Linked DNA regions of Homo sapiens: region 2 is linked to region 1. The links are contacts of gene promoters, found by promoter capture Hi-C in human tissues and cell types (Jung and others, 2019). All regions are on one chromosome and are shown on one strand. The core of a region is centred on a gene start or on the middle of the fragment in contact, and the rest is flanking DNA. Distances in the headings are between cores, read along the strand shown. Region 1 holds the start of PAX1 (paired box 1). Region 2 holds the start of FOXA2 (forkhead box A2).

Region 1 (5,459 bases), core at 2,110-4,609:
TCTGCCCTCTGTTACTTCCCGCAAGAACCGAAATGCGCACCTGTATGCCCAAGTTGGACTTAAATCAGCTTTTTCTTAAGGTTTCTCCTGGAGTCCTTGAAATGCATGGGCCCGGGGAACATCCCGGCCTATTGCTTGTTTTAACTCCCGGAAACAAACCCACCAAAAATCAAAGCCAAGTATGAGACATGAAGTGGGGGCGACTGTAGCTCCAAGAGCGGCCCTGTCACCGAACCCCTGGGTGTTTAGCAGTGTGAAGTTTCGGGTGTTGAGTTCACGGCTCAGGTGGCGTGCAGCAAGGGAGTTCTCATCAGTAACCCCCCTTGCCGCCAACCCCCAGTCCCCAGAAGGGCAGGCACCCCTTCGCGCCTCCTTTTTGACTCCCGCTTTCGGCAAAGAGTTTACCTCTCTTTCTTTTCCTGCCTTGGGAAAACTGGGCGAGGGCCCGAAGCCTCTGGGGTACCCTCAGATCCATCCTCTGCCCTGCTAGGAGTCCAGCCCCAGGCGGAGGAGTTTTGCCCCAGGTTTCTGAGTGCGCCCTCAGCTAACAGGCTCCCGCGACCCTGGAAGCGGAACTTTGTTGCACTCCGCTTCCAGAGGACGCTGAAATACGGTGCCAAACCCAGCCAAGCAAAAACGCAGAATCCGCGAGCTCTTTACCTCTGTGCGCTCAGCGCTGACTAGTAGCTGTCCCCGGGCCATGGAGAGGGCTAAGCTGCCTCCTTGGGAGGTGGGAGAGACGTTTCTTTTCCTTCTGCAATCTCATCTTAGGGCCATCTCTCACCAAGCCTAGCCTGCAGCTCGGGAACCCGCGATACCCGGCCGGGGGACGACAGGGGGCGACAAACTGTAAGGTTTTCCCTATGCCCGACCGTGCAGAAGGCTGCAGCGAGGGCTGTGTGCTCCCGATCGCGCACAGCTGGCTGCGGGAAAGGGGCCAGGATTGAGACGAAGGCTCGCGGACTCTGCTACCGGGGAGAACCACCCCCTCTCATCGTGCGCAATCCCCAGACTCACCCCTCTACAGTAGCCCCCAGCCACGGGCGGCCTTCACGGGGACGGGGGCGGAGTTTTGTCCTGGACTGCGACTCCTTGCCACTTTTCCAAGCTCGGCAGCAGAGGTGGGGTGGACGTTCCCCTGAAAGGGTAGTTGGGCGAACCAGCTCTCACGGTGTCACGACCGGCTTTATTTCCTCGTCTTTAGAGTGTGCCTGTTGACTCCTCACCTACTGGGGGGAAGAAGCGGCTTTAGCTGCTTTTCCGGATCACGAGTATCCACTGGACTGAGGCAGGGATGTGGCGTTCCTTTATCTCAGAGACTCCAAGGTCTGGAAATCAACCTTTCTTGGTATCTCGCGCCCGACGAAGCTAGCAGATTCCGCAATGGAGAGCACTGGGCAGGGTGCGTCCCCACTCCCCGCACCCCCGGAGCCCCGAGCATACTGTGCGTGCTTAGTCCTCTCTTCGCTGCCTTCGCGGAACTCCTGGCTTAGGCGTGCCCACTTTAATCCAAACCATTCCCTTTCCCTGTTCCTTACTCCAAACCTACGCTGTCATGGACAGGCCTAATCTTCTACATAGCTTCCCCTGCTCCCACTCTCGCACCCTCCTGCCAGTGCACTGACCCTCAAACCTCCTCCAGGTCTCCAGGACCTCCCAGAGCCAGAGACTGTACTGTGTTCATGCCGCCGGAGAGGAAGAGTTCACTTCTTTTAAACCTGATTTTTCTTTTTCCAGGAGTAATTCTTGTCTGTGGCCCCACCGCGTGCTCTCTCTAGAGAGTCCAGGAATTATGAGCCAGTCACTCCTGACAGATACATTTAGACAGGTGGATTAGGAGCCAGGGATGCTCTCTGGCCCTACAGCGGAGGCAAAGGGGTCGGGGCCTCCGCAGCCATGGCTCCCCAGGGTGGGCTGATAGGGTCCATGTGCTCCTCAGCCACTGTCACCGCGCTGGCGCCATACTCAACTCTGGGTGGCTAAGGAGAGCTAGACCCTTGGGGTGGGCAGGAGGGAGGGGAAGAGGGTTCTCTCCTCCAGGGGAGCGCTGGGAGTCTCAGAAACCTCGGCTGTTCCTACTCTCTCCCCTATGCCCTCTTCCTGGTCTAGCACATTCAGCCCAATGCCTTTGGTGCTTACTGGGCTCAACCTCAGAGCTCTCAGATCCTGACCCCCTCAAATCAGTTCATGTTCAAAACCACGAGTTTCCTCCTCTTGGCCCTCACCGCATGGCTCCCGGACACAGTTAGCTGCACAGGTTGGGGAGTTCAGAACTGCTTTGGTGCAGGGTAGAAACAGAGAAATTGTTGATGTTCAATCTCAGGGGTGAATAATTCAGGGCTGCGCAAAACCTCATTTAAATGAAGGAGAAATGACCATTCTGTGGTTTAACAGAGACTTCCTGAAGCTGCAGGTGCTGGGAGAAAGACGAGGCCAGGCCACCTGGGATAGAGTGGTGCGAGATTCCACCGCCAGGGAGAAAGGAACTTGTCCTTCAGACCTAGAGCTGGAGCTATGCATTTGGCCTCCCGCCGGTCGCGCTTGGGGACAGGAGGGCGCCGGATCTATGCGCCCCTTAGCAGCAGATCGGGATCCTTTTGCCTCCTGCCCCTTCTGTCACTGCTTGGAGAGGGATGAGTTCTGGTGGCTGGGCCTGGCTGTAGGAGACAGGATTTGGACCGTGCCCCTCTCGCATCACCGAAATCACCCCCACTATTCCAAGAGTGGTTGGCTATTAAACGTGAAGATTTCCTGAGAGAAGGATTGAGGACCTGGCCAGGAATGGGACACAAGTTCCGCCTTGTGTCTTCCTGACAGGAGCCCTGCACCGCGCTGGACGCTCACCTTGACACTCCCAGCCAGCTGGGGTACTGATCCCACCCTTCCCCGGCCGCTGCCCCGGGAGTGGGGAGGTAGAGAGAGCCACACCCGAAACACCTTTCCACGATAAACTTTTATTCTCTATCTTATTATTAATGGTGGCGGAAATAAAACTAAAACCAAAACGAAAACGAGTACTAGTACTAACACACTAATCAATTTGAGATGACTTCCCCCTCATTCCCAAAGCTAGAGGAGGAAGGGGGCTGAAAGGGGCTCAGAGCAGTGGAAGGTCCCAGGCCCAGCTGGGGTTGGGACGTGTGTGTGTGTGTGTGTGTGTGTGTGTGTGTGTGTGTGTGTGTAGAGGGGTGGGTTCCGGGGGGGTGGTGGAAGAGGGCCGAGGGGGGAGGATAGAAGGAGGGGGTAGAGTTTCAGGGCGGGGAGGGGGGCGCTGGGGCGCAGTGACGGGAACCAATGAGCTGCCAACTCGCGCGTCTCCGGCGTGACTGCCGAGATTGACGTGGAGGACACGTCAAATTGATTCCCGCACGCTGCAGCCTCCCGGTCAGACGAATTTCTCCCAATCGGATGAAGTTCACCCTGGGCCTGGGGTCGCGGGCGTGGAGAGTGTCCTGGGAGGGGGCAGCAGCGGCGGCGGCAGGCCCTGGAGCGGGCGGCAGCGCGCTCCGCTGCCGCGCACAGCGCGTCTCCAGCCCGCGGCTGGGCCGCCGCGGCTCTCGGCTCTCGGGCGCCCTCCCTCTATGCCTCTCACGCGGCGGCGGCGGCGCCCAAGCTCTCCCGGACTGCGCCGGGCCCAGCCCCGGCCACCCCGGCCACCCCGGCGCCAGGCAGCTGGCCGGCCCGCTCGCTATGGGTAAGGGGCGGGCGACAGGCAGGGCTCGGGAGGGCTGATGAGGTGGGTCGGGTCCGCCTGCCTCCCTTCCCTCTCGTCCGCTTTCCCTGGGCGACCCAGTCCTGGGTCCTGGAGAAGCTGCATTCTCCTCTGATCCCCAGCCTTCAGGGGGCAGTTGAGCAAGTCTGGGAAGGGAGTGTTCCAAGTAGACGCGCTAAAAGTCGCGAAAGGGCACGGAGGGCTACAATGCGCCGCGCTCCACTCCGCGGCTCCTCTGCGCCCTTGCCCACTCCAAGCCAGACCCAGGCGGTTTGCCCTTGGACTCCGAGCTGTCTGGGGACCCACAGGTCACCTTTGGAAGTGCGCCTGGGTGCAGTCCCTCGCTCCGCGTGGGGACCCTTGGCTAACCCGCCGGGTGTTTTCTCCCCCTCCGGCTCACTCTTGTCTGGCGCATCCGCAGAGCAGACGTATGGCGAGGTGAACCAGCTGGGCGGTGTGTTCGTCAACGGCCGCCCCCTGCCCAACGCCATCCGCTTGCGCATTGTGGAGCTGGCGCAGCTGGGCATCCGACCCTGTGACATCAGTCGGCAGCTCCGCGTATCCCACGGCTGCGTGAGCAAGATCCTGGCGCGCTACAACGAGACCGGCTCCATTCTGCCCGGGGCCATCGGGGGGAGCAAGCCCCGCGTCACCACTCCCAACGTGGTCAAGCACATCCGGGACTACAAGCAAGGAGACCCTGGCATCTTTGCCTGGGAGATCCGCGACCGGCTGCTGGCCGACGGCGTCTGTGACAAGTACAATGTGCCTTCGGTGAGCTCCATCAGCCGCATCCTGCGCAACAAGATCGGCAGCCTGGCGCAGCCCGGACCGTACGAGGCAAGTAAGCAGCCGCCGTCGCAGCCTACGCTGCCCTACAACCACATCTACCAGTACCCCTACCCCAGTCCCGTGTCGCCCACGGGCGCCAAGATGGGCAGCCACCCCGGGGTCCCGGGCACGGCGGGCCACGTCAGCATCCCGCGCTCATGGCCCTCGGCACACTCGGTCAGCAACATCCTGGGCATCCGGACGTTTATGGAGCAAACAGGTCAGTTGTGGCGGCCTCCGTAGCCTTCTATTAAGGGGCAGAACCTGGGGCGGGCAGGCTTGCAGGAGAGGACTCACACTCGCTCTCCTCCCGGGACCGGTTCTGGCTCAGGGGAGGGCTCCACACTGGCCAGGGAGGCTGGGGGTCCTGGGCCTTTTGTAAGAGACCTCGGACATCTTGAACTTTTTATGACAAATATGGAAAATATTTCCCAAATAGAAGAGCAATCGCCGACCACAAATTTGGAGGCCTGAAATTGTGCTTTTTCATTCTTGCAAAAAGTATGCAAGCCCCTGTTGCCAAATCTAAGGGGGAAAAAAACCCGCTCAATTTTGAGACCCTTTCTTTAGCTCTCAGAATCCTTCACGATTTCCCAAGGGTTCTGTCCCCCACTCCCAGGCCCAGTGGCTCTTCTGAGTTAAAGGAAAAGGGATCTTGTGGTCGATTGAGTGGCCTACATCTCTAAGGTCCTGTGGCCTTGCAGGTCCTGGAGTTTGCGGTGATGGCTGGTGGGGCTGCAGCCACCTTCACAAGGATTTGTCATTTATCTGCAACTAAAGCTTAACACACTATAGGTCAAGTGGGTGACGAGGAAGATGGGGAAGGCGGGAGGTTTGGAACAACTTTGATGCCTGGCTGGGAAAGAAACCAGCCAGAATCGGGTCTGGATTTCTTTGCGCTCTCCCCAGCTGCCAG
Region 2 (5,484 bases), core at 2,903-5,402, 880 kb after region 1:
TACAGAGGAGGCTGGAAGATCCAGGCAGAGTCCCAATTCCACCACTGTTCACAGTGGTGAACAGGCAAAGTGCTGCACCACAAATTTGCAAGTTTGATCCAGGCTCATTGACCTGAAGGGAGGCCCAAGATCAGAAGTACAGCAAAAACATGTGAAATTGAGGCTTCCCCCAAGAGAAGCAAGCTGTGGGGCCCAAGAGACCACAACAACAGGGCACATTCAAACAGCCAAGGTGGAAAATTGTGATATGTGGAGAGTGATCTTCTACTGGCTTTAAAAATAAACCTGCTGGAATGGTCTTCCTGGGATCTGTGTATTTCATTGTGTGTAAAGTTAACCCCCAAATTCAAAAAGTAACCATAAACCATACAAGTTCCATTTAATAATGTGCTTGCTTTAGTGTTTAGGGGGATGTGTACTGGTATCTGCAAATTTGAAGTGGATTTAGAGAAATAAGATGGATTGACCAGTGGAGGTGAAGATAGATGGACAAGTATGTGATAAAGCAAGTATAATGAAATGTTAATTGCAGAATCTCGGGAGCAGGTCCCTGTGTGCCTACTGTAAAATTCATTCAATTTTGGTATGTCTGAAAATTTTATTAATAAAATGTTGGGAAAACAGCAACACTCCCTGGGCCAAAATAAAATACAACCTGCAACCAGACAGGGTATCCCTCCCTCCTTCTTGAAATAATTTCCAAGCCTGTATATTTTGTAAGCCAAGTAAAGAAAAGAAAAATCTGGAAGAAAAGATTCAAGGGATAAAACCGGGTATAACACTTTAATATAGATTTGTGGAACTCTGGCCCTTGCAGCCAGAATACACATTTATAAGCCATAAATAAAGCACGCAGAAACCATAAATTAATCGGACCCGAGACCTGGATTTCACCGTGTCAAGATTGGGAATGCTTTTTTTTTCTTTTTCTTGGTCATTTACAACAGACCCTTACATTATTTTTTTTCCTGTTTTTAAACAATAGTACAACCCTCTGGTTCTGTTAAAACTACATGGTTTTACACCGAGTCACTCACAAAATTTTTTTTTTTTTTTAAGTAAGACTTCCCTGCAACAACAGCAATGGAGGAGAACAACAACAACAAAAAAATCAGAATCTGCAGGTGCTTGAAGAAGCAGGAGTCTACACAGTAGTGGAAACCGGAGGCTTTTTTTTAACTTTATATTCTTTCCCGTTTTCCTCCTTATATAGAACGTGGGGTATCTGTGTGGCCCTCTGTTTGGGACGGAACGGCTGCAGCGGGTGAAGAAGACTGCTGTCTTGGGGGTGTTGGGGTGGGGGTGTTATGGATTTCTTCTCCCTTGCGTCTCTGCAACACCGTCTCCCCAAAGTCTCGACCCCCACTTGCTCTCTCACTTGTCCTCGATCCGGGGTGCCAGAGTTAGCCGGGCCTGAAGCCGTCGTCTTCTTAAGAGGAGTTCATAATGGGCCGGGAGTACACCCCCTGGTAGTAGGAGGTATCTGCGGCCAGGGGCGAGGCGTCCAGGCCCGTTTTGTTCGTGACCGGGCCCATGGCCAAGCTGCCAGGCATGGGGGAACCGTAGCCGGGGTAGTGCATCACCTGTTCGTAGGCCTTGAGGTCCATTTTGTGGGGTTGGTGGTGGTGGTGGCTGTGGTGGTGCTGCTGCTCCGAGGACATGAGGTTGTTGATGGAGAACGGGTGGTTGAAGGCGTAGTGGTGTTCCGGCTTCAGGTGGGCCTCAGGCGGCAGGCCCGGGTGGTGGGGCGGGCCCAGCAGGTGGGCCGCGGCCTGCTGCTGCTGCCCGGGAGAGGGCGCCGGCTCTGGGGGGCTCAGCGCCGCAGCCGGCGTCCCCTTCAGCTCTCCCAGGCCCCCTCGCTTGTGCTCCTGGCACGGGGAGGCGCTCGAGTGAGGCGACTCGGTGCCCGCCGGAGTCTCGGAGGCCGGCCCGGCGGCCTCCCCGAGTTGAGCCTGTGAGGCCTGGGCTCCGGCGGCCGCCTTCTTGCCGCTGCCGGCGGCGCCTGCGGCCTCCTTCAGCGCCAGCTGCTTCTCGCACTTGAAGCGCTTCTGGCGGCGCAGGTAGCAGCCGTTCTCGAACATGTTGCCCGAGTCAGGGTGCAGGGTCCAGAAGGAGCCCTTGCCGGGCTTGTCGGGCGAGCGGGGCACCTTCAGGAAACAGTCGTTGAAGGAGAGCGAGTGGCGGATGGAGTTCTGCCAGCGCTGCTGGTTCTGCCGGTAGAAGGGGAAGAGGTCCATGATCCACTGGTAGATCTCGCTCAGCGTCAGCATCTTGTTGGGGCTCTGCTGGATGGCCATGGTGATGAGCGAGATGTACGAGTAGGGCGGCTTTGCGTGCGTGTAGCTGCGCCTGTAGGTCTTGGGGTCGCGGGCGCGGCTCAGGCCCGCCTGCCCGTACATGGGGCTCATGGAGTTCATGTTGGCGTAGGGGGCCAGGCCGCCCATGGCCCCGGCCGCCTGCCCCCCGAGCGGGCTCAGGCTGGGACTCAAGTGCGGCCCCATGCCCGCCACGCCGGCCGCCCCGGCCGAGCCGCCCATGCCCGCCATGGCGCCCGCGCCGGGGGACATCCCCGCCAGGGACGGGCTCATGCCAGCGCCCACGTACGACGACATGTTCATGGAGCCCGCGCTCATGTTGCCCGAGCCGCTGCCCATGGCGGCCGCCGACATGCTCATGTACGTGTTCATGCCGTTCATCCCCAGGCCGGCGTTCATGTTGCTCACGGAGGAGTAGCCCTGCGGACAGAGCCCCGGGAGGGAGGCGACAGCGTTAGCACCGCGGCTGGAGGGTGCCCAGACCTCCCACCCACCGCCCAGGCCTCCGCGTCCGGGGAGGCCTCCGGGGAGCCCTTTCGTCCCCGATGGCCCAGTCTCCGGACTCCGAGTCTGTTTCATTCAGGGAGAGTCATGATCGATCGCCCTTGGGAAGGTGGCGAGCGGATTGCTGCTTGGGCATGTGGCCCGTTCCTAGCCCTTCTCCACCTCGCCCAGATTCTAGAACAGGGGTCCCATGGAGTACTCCCAAGCCAGCACCCCAAATACATTCCCCTACCCCAGAGTCTCCCCAAACTCTCCCACCAGCATACTGAGCTGGCGCCGAGGCCCGAAGTCCCCGGACGCCACCTCCGGTCGCAGCAAGCAACCTGCGGGACAACGCGCGGGGCGCCTCGGGCTGCCTCCAGCGAAGACTGTCCCGGGCCCCCTCTGTCCGGTCTCCCTCCAGGGACCCCCTCCCTTGTCCCAGGGAAACTGCAAGGCAGTGCCTGTGCGGAGTGCGGGGGCGGCTGGAGGCACTGAACGGGGCAATAGGGAAAGAACCGAGACCTGAACCACACGCGGCTGAGCTTTGCAGGCAAAAACTTTCTTTCTCTTTGTCCACTAGTCTTTGACTCTGCCTCCACTTCAGCCCCCAACTCCTACCCATCTTCTCCTCCTCAGCTCCCCACCCCCTCGCCGGCCGACCTCCCACCCCTCCCCAGCCGCGCGCTGCCAAACATAACTCTGTTAGGATAGTGCGTGGCTCGGCCACGAAGAGGATTTGGAGGCGCCGCAAGTCAATATTTGATCACAAAGTTAATATTATCTCAAGGCTAACAGTGTGTCGTATAAAAAAGAGACCCATTTGATTCCAAGGAGGGCGGAAAAGGCGGCTGCCCAGAAAGGCTGGGGTTGTGGGGCGGGGTGGGGGGGTGCCAGCGAGGGAAGCGGTCCTGAGGTTGGGGAAGGAGCGAGCGCCGCCGCTCCACTTCCCCCTGGAAAAGACGAGCGCTTACCTCGGGCTCTGCATAGTAGCTGCTCCAGTCGGACGGCTCGTGCCCTTCCATCTTCACCGCTCCCAGCATACTGGAAGCCGAGTGCATGGCAGTTTAAAATTTAACAGCCACAACAAACGACCAGCAATCACCCCCCACCCCCACCCTCTTTTAAAAAAAAGTCAGCCAAAGCACCGTCCCCTCCTCCCTCCCTCTCTCGCGCTCCCTCTCCCTGGGCTCCACTCCCTCTCTCTCCCTGGGCAGGCCGGAGGCGGTAGTTGGAAGTGGGCGGGAGGTGGGGGGGGGCGAGGAGCGGAGGAGGCCCAGGCCAGCGCCCCGCGGTAGGGAGCACCCGCCGCCGCCGCGCTCACGGGCTGCCGGGTGGCGGCTGAGGTTGGCAGTGCCGAGCTGCCCCGAGGCGGCGGGAAGCGCGCGGCGCGGGGGCTAGTGGGGGGGTGGGGAGGAGGAGGAGGAAGGAGGAGGAGGAGGCGGTGGTGGTGGTGGAGGAGGAGGAGGAGGAGGAGGAGGAGGAGGAGGAGGAGGAGGTGTGGACCGCGGAGCGGACAAGTGCCGCAGTGACGTGGGAGGCTGGTGATATAGCGCGGCGCGCTGGCGCGGGCCTCCAATCCCCAGACCCGGGGCAGCCCATTTGAATAATCAGCTCACACCTAGGTGAGAGGTAGCCGCAGCCGGCGCTCCGCACCTGCCCCTCAGCGCCTGCCGTCCGCCCCACCGCCGCGGCGCCCCGCACTCCTGGGCGGGCCAGGGGAGCGGGCTGGGCGGGCGATCGGGCACGCGGGATCCCTGGTCGAGCCCCCTTTCCTCCCGGGTCCACAGCGAGTCCCCTGAGGAAGGAGGGACCTGGGAGGAAACCACCCTCTGGGGCGGCTCCGGCCTCCAGCCCCCGCCCCGTCTCATCGCGCCGGGCGCCCGGTGCGCCTGTCGGAGGGCGCGTCCAGCCTCAGTGCCCGGCAGATCCCTATGAAAGCCGGATTTATTTATGCCGGGTTTCTTCGCTCTCAGTGCTCATTCTCTGTCAAAACAGCAAGTCCATGACAGCCAATTTGCAAAGCGCTGTCCTATTTAGAAAAACTACGTACACACCTTTAACTCGCCCGCTGCTGCTCCTGCGAGGCCCCTCCCTGTTACAGTTCAGACCCGGAACGGCCTCGGGAGAAGCGCGGGGCGCACGGTCTGGCCGCCTCGGCTCTCCGACTCCTCAGACACCGGCCGCCAGGGACCCGCAGTGGGGCGGCCGGCGCCTGGCGCAAGCAGCCCCTCTAGCAGCGGCCGACGGTTGGGAGGCTGAGATTTGTCTCTGATATTCAGGCCGGCGTGTTTCAAGGTTACTTTTCAGTCACAACCGAGGTGCCCACAGCATTTCGTAACTAAAACAAACAGGGCAGGAGGTGGGGAGGGAGGGGTGAGGAGAGAAGAATCCAGGAATCAATGATGGGGCATATGGAGTTGACTTCAAGAGCGTCTCTGTCCTCTCTGTCTTCCAGAGGGACTGCTTAATAGAAATTAGAAACTCCAGCAATCGTATACTTTTATTTCCCCAGCAGCTCTTGGGTTCAAAAATTGTCTTCTGTTCTGGGTTAGCCTGTGAGCCCAGATTTGGAGTGGGGGGATATTGCAGGTGTTTGGATGTGGAGGCTCTTTCTTGGTTCTGAAAACCTGGCTGGACCTTGGGGATCCAGCCCTGTACCCACCCCCTCAGACACAGAGAATGC

What was found. Contacts are between HindIII fragments. The study calls those that stand out against the background at their distance.
Region 2: a contact is called between the fragment with the promoter of FOXA2 here and the fragment with the promoter of PAX1 in region 1, in 2 of the 25 tissues and cell types used here (H1 embryonic stem cells and mesendoderm cells).

Annotation. Positions count from the first base shown.
Region 1 is chr20:21,702,305-21,707,763 of GRCh38, forward strand. It overlaps PAX1 (paired box 1), which reads left to right and starts at 3,360. Exons shown (of 5, transcript NM_001257096.2): 1 at 3,360-3,694; 2 at 4,134-4,763. The coding sequence starts at 3,409. LINC01726 (long intergenic non-protein coding RNA 1726) reads right to left here and starts at 1,281. Exons shown (of 5, transcript NR_109878.1): 1 at 1,018-1,281. RefSeq lists an enhancer at 599-1,203. The HindIII fragment of the contact is 9,805 bases long and covers 1-5,459 here.
Region 2 is chr20:22,580,420-22,585,903 of GRCh38, forward strand. FOXA2 (forkhead box A2) reads right to left here and starts at 4,153. Exons shown (of 2, transcript NM_021784.5): 1 at 3,773-4,153; 2 at 579-2,735. The coding sequence starts at 3,859. The coding sequence ends at 1,431. RefSeq lists enhancers at 1,614-2,185, 2,186-2,758, 4,183-4,938. The HindIII fragment of the contact is 10,630 bases long and covers 1-5,484 here.